4 separate regions of the Homo sapiens genome follow, and all the other regions are linked to region 4. The links are contacts of gene promoters, found by promoter capture Hi-C in blood cells and fetal thymus (Javierre and others, 2016). All regions are on one chromosome and are shown on one strand. Each heading gives the region's core, a stretch centred on a gene start or on the middle of the fragment in contact. The rest is flanking DNA. Distances are from core to core; before and after follow the strand shown. Region 1 overlaps PTPA (protein phosphatase 2 phosphatase activator). Region 2 overlaps PTPA (protein phosphatase 2 phosphatase activator). Region 3 holds the start of MIGA2 (mitoguardin 2). Region 4 holds the start of TOR1A (torsin family 1 member A).

Evidence for each region. Contacts are between HindIII fragments. The CHiCAGO score rates a contact against its expected background, and 5 or more counts as called.
Region 1: a fragment that was not itself captured here is called in contact with the fragment with the promoter of TOR1A in region 4 in 3 of 17 cell types (fetal thymus, naive CD4 T cells and activated CD4 T cells); the score reaches 6.0 in fetal thymus.
Region 2: a fragment that was not itself captured here is called in contact with the fragment with the promoter of TOR1A in region 4 in 2 of 17 cell types (naive CD8 T cells and naive CD4 T cells); the score reaches 5.2 in naive CD8 T cells.
Region 3: the fragment with the promoter of MIGA2 here is called in contact with the fragment with the promoter of TOR1A in region 4 in 4 of 17 cell types (naive B cells, monocytes, total B cells and 1 more); the score reaches 6.7 in naive B cells.

The regions. Positions count from the first base shown.
Region 1 is chr9:129,134,864-129,137,621 of GRCh38, forward strand. PTPA (protein phosphatase 2 phosphatase activator) reads left to right here. Exons shown (of 10, transcript NM_178000.3): 6 at 1-31; 7 at 1,608-1,732; 8 at 2,729-2,758. Among named protein-coding and RNA genes, the nearest start is that of PTPA, 25 kb to the left of the region's middle. The HindIII fragment of the contact is 5,800 bases long and covers 1-2,758 here.
Region 2 is chr9:129,118,531-129,121,246 of GRCh38, forward strand. PTPA (protein phosphatase 2 phosphatase activator) reads left to right here. Exons shown (of 10, transcript NM_178000.3): 2 at 1,983-2,080. Among named protein-coding and RNA genes, the nearest start is that of PTPA, 8.5 kb to the left of the region's middle. The HindIII fragment of the contact is 9,099 bases long and covers 1-2,716 here.
Region 3 is chr9:129,035,212-129,037,932 of GRCh38, forward strand. MIGA2 (mitoguardin 2) reads left to right here and starts at 1,415. Exons shown (of 16, transcript NM_001329990.2): 1 at 1,415-1,470. RefSeq lists a silencer at 1,400-1,529 and an enhancer at 1,870-1,999. The HindIII fragment of the contact is 1,706 bases long and covers 1,291-2,721 here.
Region 4 is chr9:129,822,841-129,825,540 of GRCh38, forward strand. It overlaps TOR1A (torsin family 1 member A), which reads right to left and starts at 1,296. Exons shown (of 5, transcript NM_000113.3): 1 at 1,068-1,296; 2 at 1-6. The coding sequence starts at 1,245. RefSeq lists a silencer at 681-770 and an enhancer at 1,181-1,490. The HindIII fragment of the contact is 11,037 bases long and covers 1-2,700 here.

The DNA.
Region 1 (2,758 bases), core at 249-2,748, 690 kb before region 4:
AAATAGCTATTGTCTTCAAGGTGTTCAATCGGTGAGAGAAAGGACAGGAGGGTTGGAGGAGGGGGCGTGAGGGGCCATCTGTTTCCTCCTCAAACTGGGAAATGGGGTGCTCTAGGGTTCTCCTGAGTAGCTCATGGTTCTCTTGTCCTGTCCTAATCAAGCTCTGGCTGTGGATGGAGTGTCCAAGCCTTTTTTCCAACAGGTTCAAATTAACCTCCAAGTAAAAGCAAGTGAAAGAATTGTCACATAGGCCGGGCGCGGTGGCTCACGCCTGTAATCCCAGGACTTTGGGAGGCCCAGGCAGGCGGATCACGAGGTCAGGTGTTCGACACCAGCCTGGCCAACATGATGAAACCCCGTCTCTACTAAAAATACAAGAATTAGCTGGGCGTGGTGGCACTCGCCTGTAATTCCAGCTACTCAGGAGGCTGAGGCAGAAGAATTGCTTGAACCCAGGAGGCGGAGGTTGCAGTGAGCTGAGATCGTGCCACTGTACTCCAGCCTGGGTGACAGAGTGAGACTCTGTCTTAAAAAAAAAAAGAATTGTCACATAATGTCTGCCAGTATTGACACAGTGTTGACCATATGGAGGAAGAATTCTAAGCACTTTATGTATAACTCATTAATTCTAACAACAACCCTATGAAATAGCAACTGTTATTTCCATTTTACATATGAGGAAACTGAGGCACAGAGATATCCGGTGTCTTCACTGGGTTCACGCCAGCTGAACCCAGGTAGTCAGACTCTGACCTGCTGCCCCACACCACCCAAGCCAGTCGCTGGGCAGCACTGATGTGGATCAGTTACCCAGAGCTCTTAAAATCCCCATTGCGGGCCCCAGTCTAGCAGTGCTGCTGCAGCAGGCCTGTGACGGAGCCCAGGAGCAGTGCTCGATGCTTCACAGGTGGTTGATATGCAGCCTCTGATAATATAGAAGGTTGGAACCAGAAGAACCTAGGAGATAACCTGCTGGGACTTGTGTTAGCTTTCAGACAGGCCAACTGAGGCTGGAGAGGCTGAGGCCCTGCCCAGGGTTTTACAAGTTGTCAGGAGTTGATGGCACCAAAACCCACCTTCCTAATCAGTGATTTTTTATTTATTTATTTGTTTATTTTTTTTGAGACAGGGTCTTGCTCTGTCGCCCAGGCTGGAGTGCAGTGGAGAGATCTCGGCTCACTGCAAGCTCTGCCTCCTGGGTTCATGCCATTCTCCTGCCTCAGCCTCCAGAGTAGCTGGGACCACAGGCGCCCACCACCACACCTGGCTGATTTTTTGGATTTTTAGTAGAGACGGGGTTTCACCGTGTTGGCCAGGATGGTCTCGATCTCCTGACCTTGTGATCCGCCTGCCTCGGCCTCCCAAAGTGCTGGGATTACAGGCGTGAGCCACCGTGCCCGGGCCCTTAATCAGTGATTTTTATGCCTTTCCTGAGCCAAAAGATGGCTGAGTGTTTGTTGGGGGAAATAAAGCTACATTATTGAAATTGAGACCAGTTAACACTCTTCAGTGGTTATTTTGGGGTCTCCTTGTGCTCCCAGTGGCCGAAAGGGTGAGACTGTCTTTTTACTTTTTGCTACCTTCCCTTTCCCTGTCCTCCTGTGCAGGTACCTTGAGGTTATGCGGAAACTCCAGAAAACATACAGGATGGAGCCAGCCGGCAGCCAGGGAGTGTGGGGTCTGGATGACTTCCAGTTTCTGCCCTTCATCTGGGGCAGTTCGCAGCTGATAGGTACTAGAGCGGGAGGTGCCTATCCCTCCACCCCCAACCAAGGCTGCGTTCTGTGGCCCTCCCCTGCCCCTCCTGCGCTCCCTCCTTCCCTTCTTCCTGCCCAGGGCAGACAGTGACAGCTTGGAAAGCAGGGCATTAGACCAGCTATTGAGGGAGGCTGTTTACTGTCGACCTTCTGCTGTGAGAGCCCGTGTGGTGGGCTGGAGGAGGCGGAGGCCAAGCGCCACCAAGATAATGGGAAGTGACATGGGCTGGAGCAAGGGCGCACGCCTGGTGCATAATGGACTGGTGTGAAATGCGCCCCAGCTCCTGGCAGCAGCTGTGGGGTTTTATGTTGAAAATGAGGGACCCTTTTGATTTGGTGACCAGTGTCATCCACTGTTATTATCGAGCTGTGTGCAAAGGGGCCCGTTAGGGAGCAGCCGCCAAGTGCTGGGTGGTGGGCCTGCTTCCTGTGGGGCTCAGAGAGGCCTGCTCTGGTGACTCCCCAACTCTTGAAGCTAGTTTTCAGGATGGGCGTAGGTGATCATCTCTATTTTGATGAAGAATGAACTGCCTACAGACTGATATTCATAAATGACCATTAGTTGTGGCCTCGGGTGCATTGCCTCCCCGAATCTTCTCAGTGACACTGCGAAGGGTCTGCCAGCATGAAGCCGGCTCTGCTGACTGGCACCTGCACCAGGCACCATACTGAGTGCTGTAGGTGTGGTAATTGTTGTCATGGCCCCTAGGAGGAGGTGCTCTTCTTGTCCCCAGTGTCCAGGTGAGGAAACTGAACCTTGGCAGGCTGAAGTCATGCGTCCAACGCCATGCAGCTAGAGCTTAGCACATTAGAATACACAAACCCAGAGTTACTTATTGCTCCTTCAAGGTGAGGTGTTGAGGGCACCACGGGCAGGACTGAGGCCCCTGGGGGGGTGTGACTGCTGGGCCGGGTTGCCCAGGTAGTCGTGGGGCCTGGTTCTGAATGCTGGGGCCCATTCCTTTTCCCAGACCACCCATACCTGGAGCCCAGACACTTTG
Region 2 (2,716 bases), core at 5-2,504, 700 kb before region 4:
ACCTGAATAATTTTATATTTTTAGTAGAAATGGGGTTTCACTATGTTGGTCAGGCGCATCTCCAACTCCTGACCTCAGGTGTGATCCACCCACTTTGGCCTCCCAAAGTGCTGGGATTGTAGGCATGAGCCACCGCGCCCCGCCTAAAATTTTTTTTTTTTTAAAGTAGAGATGGGGTCTCGCTGTGTTGCCCAGGTTGGTGTCAAACTCCTGGACTCAAGTGATCCTCCCACCTGGGGCTCCCAAAGTGCTGAGATTACAGGTGTGAGCCACTATGCCCAGCTTTTTTTTTTTTTTTTGATGCATTAAACACCTTTGTGTTTCCGTGAGCACATCTGAAAGATAGATTCCTGTAAGTAGACCTGTTGACTCATTGTGTATATGCAGTTTTTTATTCCAAAAGATTGTCCCCTTAGGAGGTCCTTCCCACCCACAGAGCGGGAGAATTCTTGTTTCCTCTTCCTGGAATCTTGTTTTGTTTTTATTGAGACAGAGTCTCGTTCTGTTGTCCAGGCTGGAGTGCAGTGGTATGATCTCAGCTCACTGCAACCCCCACCTCCTGGACTCAGGTGATCCTCCTGCTTCAGCCTCCCAAGTAGCTGGGACTACAGGTATGCAACCACACCCAGCTAATTTTTAAATTTTTTTTGTAAAGATGGCGTTTTGCCAAGTTGGCCAGCCTGGTCTTGAACCCCTGGCCTCAAGTGATCTGCCTGCCTTGGCCTCCCAAATTGCTGGGATTAGGTATGAGCCACCACACCTAGCCAGATGTTTTTAATTTGCCAACCTTATCCAGAAAGAGAAATCACATATAATTTACGTGTCCGTGCTTATTCAGGAGGTTGGCAATTTATTCCAAATGTTTACTGCAATTAGGTTTTTTTTTTTTTTTTGAGACGAAGTCTCGCTCTGTTGCCTGGGTTGGAGTGCAGTGGTGCAATCTCGGCTCACCACAAGCTCCGCCTCCCAGGTTCACGCCATTCTTCTGCCTCAGCCTCCCAAGTAGCTGGGACCGCAGGCGCCCGCCACCACGCCTGGCTAATTTTTTTGTACTTTTTTAGTAGAGATGGGATTTCACCATGTTAGCCAGGATGGTCTCGATCTCCTTACCTTGTGATCTGCCTGCCTTGGCCTCCCAAAGTGCTGGGATTACAGGCGTGAGCCACCGCACCTGACCTGTTTTTTTTTCTTCTGTGAATTGCCTGTGTATGTCTGAAACATCAACTTGGTTTTATTTTTCTAACGGTTCTGCTCTGGGGGGGAGAGGGAAGGGAGGGCATGGTTATTGAAGGGATTGTCAGTATTGCCCTTCTCTTTCCTCCCCAGAGTGAGGGAGGGCAGGAGGCTGTGGGTTTGGCTTAACAAGCCCTTACTCTGTCCTGGAAGTATGTGTCTGGTTTATTCTAAGGCTCAGGTGTTGGAGTCCTGGTTTAAAAGTGAGAGAGAGGCCGGGCGCTTTGGCTCATACCTGTAATCCCAACACTTTGGAGGCCAAGGCGGGTGGATCACCTGAGGTCAGGAGTTTGCGATCAGCCTGGCCAACATGGTGAAACCCCGTCTCTACTAAAAATGCAAAAATTAGCTAGGCATGGTGACATACGTCTGTAATCCCAGCTACTCAGAACACTGAGGCAGGAGAATCGCTTGAACCCGGGAGGCAGAGGTTGCAGTGAGCTGAGATCGCGCCACTGCACTCCAGCCTGGGCGACAGAGCGAGACTCTGTCTCAAAGAAAAAAAAAAAAATTAGCTGGGTGTGGTGGCACGTGCCTGTAATCTCAGCTACTCAGGAGACTGAGGCAGGAGAATCGCTTGAACCCTGGAGGTGGAGGTTGCATTGAGCCAAGATCGTGTCACTGGACTCCAGCCTGGGCAACAAGAGCAAAACTCCGTCTCAAGAAAAAAAAAAAAGGTGAAAGGGAGTGTGTGTGTTGTAGGGGAGGATTCTATTTATCTGTTTGTTTTTTCATTTTTTTTTGTCAAGATTCTTCAGAGGAGGCCCCTCCAGCCACTCAGAACTTCATCATTCCAAAAAAGGAGATCCACACAGTTCCAGACATGGGCAAATGGAAGCGTTCTCAGGTACCATTTGGAACTGTGGTGAGAAACTTGGGCTTTTCAAAGACAGTGGTTTTCCTAGCATGACGGGCGGTGAGTTCCTGGCCCTTCTTGCTCTTGGAGCCTGACTTTTCAGAAGCTAGGGAGAAAGGTGACAGGGGAGCTGGCTGTCTCTTCCCTTCAGAGGCAGTACTCAGAGATGCTTTATCAGGAAGGTTGCCTACTTTTTCAGGCTGCTGCCAGGGTAGCCCGGGAGAGTTCCGCTCCTGGTTCTCTTAAGCCATTGCCCCTTGAGTGTTGCTGTATTGGCTGAACATGAGTGTTTGAAATGATGGAGCGAGTCACTTTGATTCTTGGCTGCAAGTAACAGCAAGTGTGGCAGCCAGTGCCTCAAGGGGAGAAGAGGCTATCTCATGGAAACTTTGGCCAGGGATATGGCTAAGCCTGCAAATACCTGGGAGCTGGGACCCAGAGCACTGGGCACAGACTGGCTTTCTCTGCTGCTCAGCTGAAATGATGGGCAGAAGATAACTACTTGTACCTCTCAGGCTTGTGGTACAGGCTGTGGAAAGACAGACTGAGCAAAAGAAAGCCAATTTCAATTTCTCAGGGAAGGCCTCTGGCCCAGTTCTCGTCAGGCTCCTGCTCCCGGCCTGGTGA
Region 3 (2,721 bases), core at 165-2,664, 790 kb before region 4:
GATTACAGGCGTGAGCCACTGCTCCCGGGCTTTTTTTTTTTTTTTTTTTTTGAGATGGAGTCTGGCTCTGTTGCCCAGGCTGGAGTGCAGTGGCGTGATCTTGGTTAACTGCAATCTCCTCCTCCCGGCTCAAGCAATTCTCCTGCCTCAGCCTCCCAAGTAGCTGGGATTATAGGTGTGTGCCACCACGCCCAGCTAGCTTTTTTATTTTTAGTAGAGACCGGTTTTCACCATTTTGGCCAGGCTGGTCTCGAACTCCTGACCTCATGTGATCCACTCACCTCAGCCTCCCAAAGTGCTGGGAATAGAGGCATGAGCCACTGCTACCGGCCGACGATTACAATTTTAAAACGTAGTTGTGCCCAGCTCTTCGCAGTTATGGAAGGGCTGATACACCGTCCTCTTTCCATCCTCACCAAAGCCCTATGATTTGGGAAAGGGAAGATTTTATCCCTATTTCTTTTTTTCTTTTTGAGACGGAGTCTCGCCCTTTGGCCCAGGTTGGAGTGCAATGGGTGGATCTCAGCTCACTGCAACCTCTGCCTCCCGGGTTCAAGAGATTCTCCTGCCTCAGCCTCCTGAGTAGCTGGGATTACAGGTGTGTGCTACCAAGCTTGGCTAATTTTTTTTTTTAATCTTTAGTGGAGACAGGGTTTCACCAGGTTGGCCAGGCTGGTCTCGAACTCCTGACCTCGTGATCCACCCACCTCGGCCTCCCAAACTGCTAGGATTACAGGCGTGAGCCACCGCGCCCGGCCTCATCCCTATTTCATAGAGGGGTAAGCTCTAGAGAGCTGAAGTGGCAACACTTGATTCTATCTCAGGTCGGCCTGATCTCAATCCTGGTATTTAGTGTAAGACCCAGATAGGTGGCCAGAACTGAAGACCCCTTGACTCCAGCTCTCAGAGAGACACTGTCTAGCGGCGAGACCTGGCACTTTTGCAAACAACTCCAGAACAAGGGGGAGAGTGGCGACAGTATAAGAGCATGCTGCGGGAAGTCAGGGGCGGTAGTATTTGAAAATGGGCGCTTGGAGAGTGGGAAGGATTTGTCCTTGTGTGGAACAAGAATAGAGGATCCTAATACGAGGGCTCAGCCTGCTTTGGCGTACTCCAAGAAAGCCCCTTGGAGGTCTGACTGCTCCGCTTCAGCCCCTTTAAGAATGGCCCCGCCCCACCCAGCCGCCCATGTCGATCTAATCTGAATGACCAATAGTAGAAGAGAAGAGACCACTTTCGCGCTTCAACCGCACTAGGAGGAGGGGAAGAGGGCGGGAGAGGCGGAATATAAGCTTGGTCACATGACCCGCCTAATTGGCCAGAGGCTGCGGCGGCCCTGAGAGACTCAGCGATGCTCATTGGCCAGAAGAGGGTGGGGGCTTGGCGCTAGGCCACGCCCCCGGGCGGCCGGTTTGGTTGCGCAGCCGCCGGGGAAGGAGACGCTGCCCTTCCGCAGCGATGGCATCCCGGGTGAGTATCGGCCCCGGCCGAGCCCCCAAGGCGGGCGGGCAGCGCGGCAGGGCCGGGACTTGAGCGGAGGACCGAGTAGGCGCAGGTGTCCGGGCCCAACAGGACCAGGAAGGTGTCGGGGTTGGAATGAGTGGGTACCCGGGCCGGGGACGGTGCGAGAGGGTGCCTTGCTTGGGAGCGGAACGAGAAGGTACTTGGGTCAGGGAGGTGATGCCCGGGCCTGGAACGTGGCGGGGATTGGAGCAGGCGCGCAGGTACCCGATCCGAGGCGGGGAGAGCACCCGGGATGGAAGGAGCAGGCGTGCGGGCCGTGAGCGGCGCCAGAGGGTACCTGGGTGAGTTTCAATGATATTCCGGGGTGGGGGCAAGAGAAGAAGGGGCTGCCCAAGATGCCTGGGGTGGAGTGAGCAATTTCTGAAGACGGGGATATTGCTGAGGTCCAACGCGGGGATGCCCGGTGCCCGGCATGGTGGGACTATTGAGGGGTCCGGCATGGGGTGAATAGGAGACTGGGCAGAGTGGCTCAAGGGAGTCGGGGACGTTGTTGGGGTCCAGACGGAATGAGTGAGTGCACAGGCCAGAGTCATTAGTGGGGTGGTCTAGCGCAGGGGAGGAGGCGCGTAGGATGATATGCTTAGGCACCCAGGCTGAGGGTGCTGTAAGTGCTGTGGTGACGGTGGAATGAGGAGGTGTCCGCCTAAGATTGTAGGGCACAAGAGATGGCTGCCCAAGTGGGGCCAGGCCCTACACAGCAGTAGAAGTGTCCATTTGGTAGGGGACCTTGCCGTGGGCTTTTCATTGTGGAGAGGAGGTGGAGGGGTCTCAGCTTAGGCCCTGGAGGACGGACAGGGTGCCAGGGGGACGGACACAGTGTGGGTTGACTGGATTTGGATCCATCCCTGGAGTGAAGCAGGCTTGGGGGCTGGTGATGTTACCTCGCACCTGCAGGCTCTGCCTCCCAGTGGGGACAGCAGGGGCTGCTCTGGACTCTCCCGCAAACAGTGGGCCTCAGTCACCCCTGTAGCGTTTATTTGTTCAGGCTCATCTTTAACACCATGTGGGCTTCTCACTTGGGGGCCCAGAAGTCCTACAGTTGTGGCCTGGAAGGAGCAGTGGCAGTTGTAGCAGGCAGAAGCTGGGAAACCCTGCCACAGCCTTGAGATCCCCCAGAGCTTGGCCGCTTAGTACTCGGTGACCTCAGGCAGGCTGCCTCATCTCAGAGCCTCCGCGTTTCCCCATCCTTGAGATAAA
Region 4 (2,700 bases), core at 46-2,545:
GCAGTGCTGGGAAAGACAAAGCCAATCAGGAGTGGGGAAGAAACAGCGGCAAAATGTAGCCACATTTACAGCCCATAAGAAAGCCAGCAAAGCCGTCTAGACGCCCTCCAAGCACCTTGCGAAACCTCAAGTACTGCGGTCTGTAAGCTCCTGGCCCAGAGGGGACGGCGGTCCAGGGAGCCCTCCCTTTGCTGGTCCTGCCTATTCTAAAGCCCTGGCCCGACTCCTTCCCGAAAAGCCCCTTGGTGCCACTGCCACTGCCACCAGTTTGCACCCCTAACCCCTGTGCTGCTCCTCCCACCCCAAGGCAGAGCCGGGAAAGGAAACAGTTTGGTCCCTCCTGGTCGGCTGCGGAAGAGTCCTCACCATCCTTCCTGTCTCCCGCTAGGCTAGAAAGGAGGCAGAACCCACTTCGGAGGGAGGTTACCACTGGTCCACCCCCAGCTTAGCGCAAAGTAGGCCAACCTGCAGCCTGGCTCCTCAGGTCTCCGACTTAAGTCTGGCACGTCTGTGGTCATGGCCGAGGAGCCAGGCCTCATCCTGCAGGCCGGCCGCTTGGCTTCCGGGGTCCGGCCCCCGCGGACTCAGCTCTGCCCAGGCCCGGCCCTCCTGGGATGTGACCCCTACCCCGGCCTGGCCCTAGTGCCATCCCCCAGCCCCAGCCCCAGCCCCAGCCCCCGCTCCTGAGCCCCAGCCCCCAAACTCCGCTCCAGCCCCAGTCCTAGCCCGGCCCTACTGCCATCCCCCAGCCTCCATCCACCATCCTCAATCCCCTAGCCCCAGCCAACCGCCCTGGTCTTAACCCAGCCCTAGTGCGATCCCCCAGCCCCACCCCCAGCCCCCGGGCCCCGCTCCATCCCCCAGCCCCAGCCCCAGCCCCAACCCGGCCCTAGTGCCATCGCCCAGCCCCAGCCCCCAGGCCCCGCTCCAGCCCTAGTCCTAGCCCGGCCCTGGTGCCATCCCCCGGCCTCCATCCTCCATTCTCCATGCCCTGGTCCTAGTTCAGCCCTAGTGCCATCGCCCAGCCCCAGCCCCAGCCCCAGCCTCCAGCCCCCGCCCCAGCCTACCCTCCCGGCTAAGGCTCCGCTTCTGCCCGCAGCACTCGGCGAAGAGGCAGTAGAGACGCGGGTAGATGTAGCCGGTGAGGACGCCGGCCAGGGCCAGTCCCAGGCTGATGGGCTCCACCGCCTGCACCACGGACGGCGCCAGCAGCAGCAGGCCCAGCACGGCCCGGCCCAGCTTCATGCCCGGACCCGCGCCACCCTGCTTGTTCTCGCGCCGACCGCGAACCGGTGCAGCCGCCAGACCCACGCTTCCGGTTCCTCCTCTCGCGGAGGCCATCTTTCTTCAGGGCAGCCCTCCTCCCGACGCCGGCGGCCGCCATCTTTGTTCGGTACAAAGCCCTGTTTTGCTTCCGGAAACTCGGTTCTGCTCCGCCCCTGTTGGCCACGTGTTTTTGTTTATGGACGTTATTTTTGCCAGGCATGGTGGCTCCTGCCTGTAATCCCAGCCCTTTGGGAGGCTGAGGCGGGCGGATCACCTGAGGTCAGGAGTTCGAGACCAGCCTGACCAACATGGTGAAACCACGTCTCTACTAAAAATATAAAATTAGCCGGGTGTGGTGGTAGGCACCTGTAGCCCTAGCTACTGGGGAGGCTGACACATGAGAATCGCTTGAACCCAGGAGGCGGAGATTGCAGTGAGCCGAGATCTCACCACTGCACTCCAGCCTGGGAGACAGAGCAAGACTGTGTCCCCTCCCCGCAAATAATAATAATAATAATAATAATAATAACGGACGTTATTTTTTAGAACAGATTTACAGAAAAATTGAGAAGATAGTAGAGAGTTCCCATGTGCCACCCATCCCTGCAATTTCCCCTATTACTAAAATCTTACATTATTAGTGTGCTACATTTGTTAAAATTAACGATGCACTGTTGTCATATTAACTAAAGTGTAGTTTATTCAGATTTCCTTCCTTTTACTTAATGCCTTTTTCTGCTGCAGGTTTCCATTCAGGATACCACATTATATTTCGTTGTCATGTCTTAGACTACTGTTAATGACAGTGTCTCAGCCTTTTATTTTTATTTTAGCTGGAGTGCAGTGGCATGATCTCAGCTCACTGCAACCTCTGCCTCCCAGGTTCAAGCGATTCTCCTGTCTCAGCCTCCTGAGCAGCTGGGATTACAGGCACACACCACCATGCCCGGCTAATTTTTGTATTTTTGGTAGAGACGGGGTTTCACCATGTTGGCCAGGATGGTCTTGATCTGACCTCATGATCTGCCCGTCTCAGCCTCCCAAAGTGCTGGGATTACAGGCGTGAGCCACCGCGCCTGGCCTCAGCTTTTTATTTTTGATGACCTTGATAGTTTTGAGGAGTACTGGCCAAATCTTTGGTGGGCTGGCCCTCTATTGGGATTTGATGTTTTTCTCAGGATTAGACAAGCGTTATGGCGTTTTGGAAGGAAGATCACAGAGGTAAAGTGCTATGCTCATCACATCCTACCAAGGAAGGGTTCTTACTGTTCAACGTTACTTACCACTGTTGGTGCTGACTTGATCACTTGACTGAAGTAGTGTTTGTCAGGTCCCCCCACCCCTCTTTTCTCTACTGTACTCTTTGGAAGGACGTCCCCATGCACAGCCCACACGTAAGGAGTCGGGGATTTTGCTCCACCTCCTTGGGGGCAG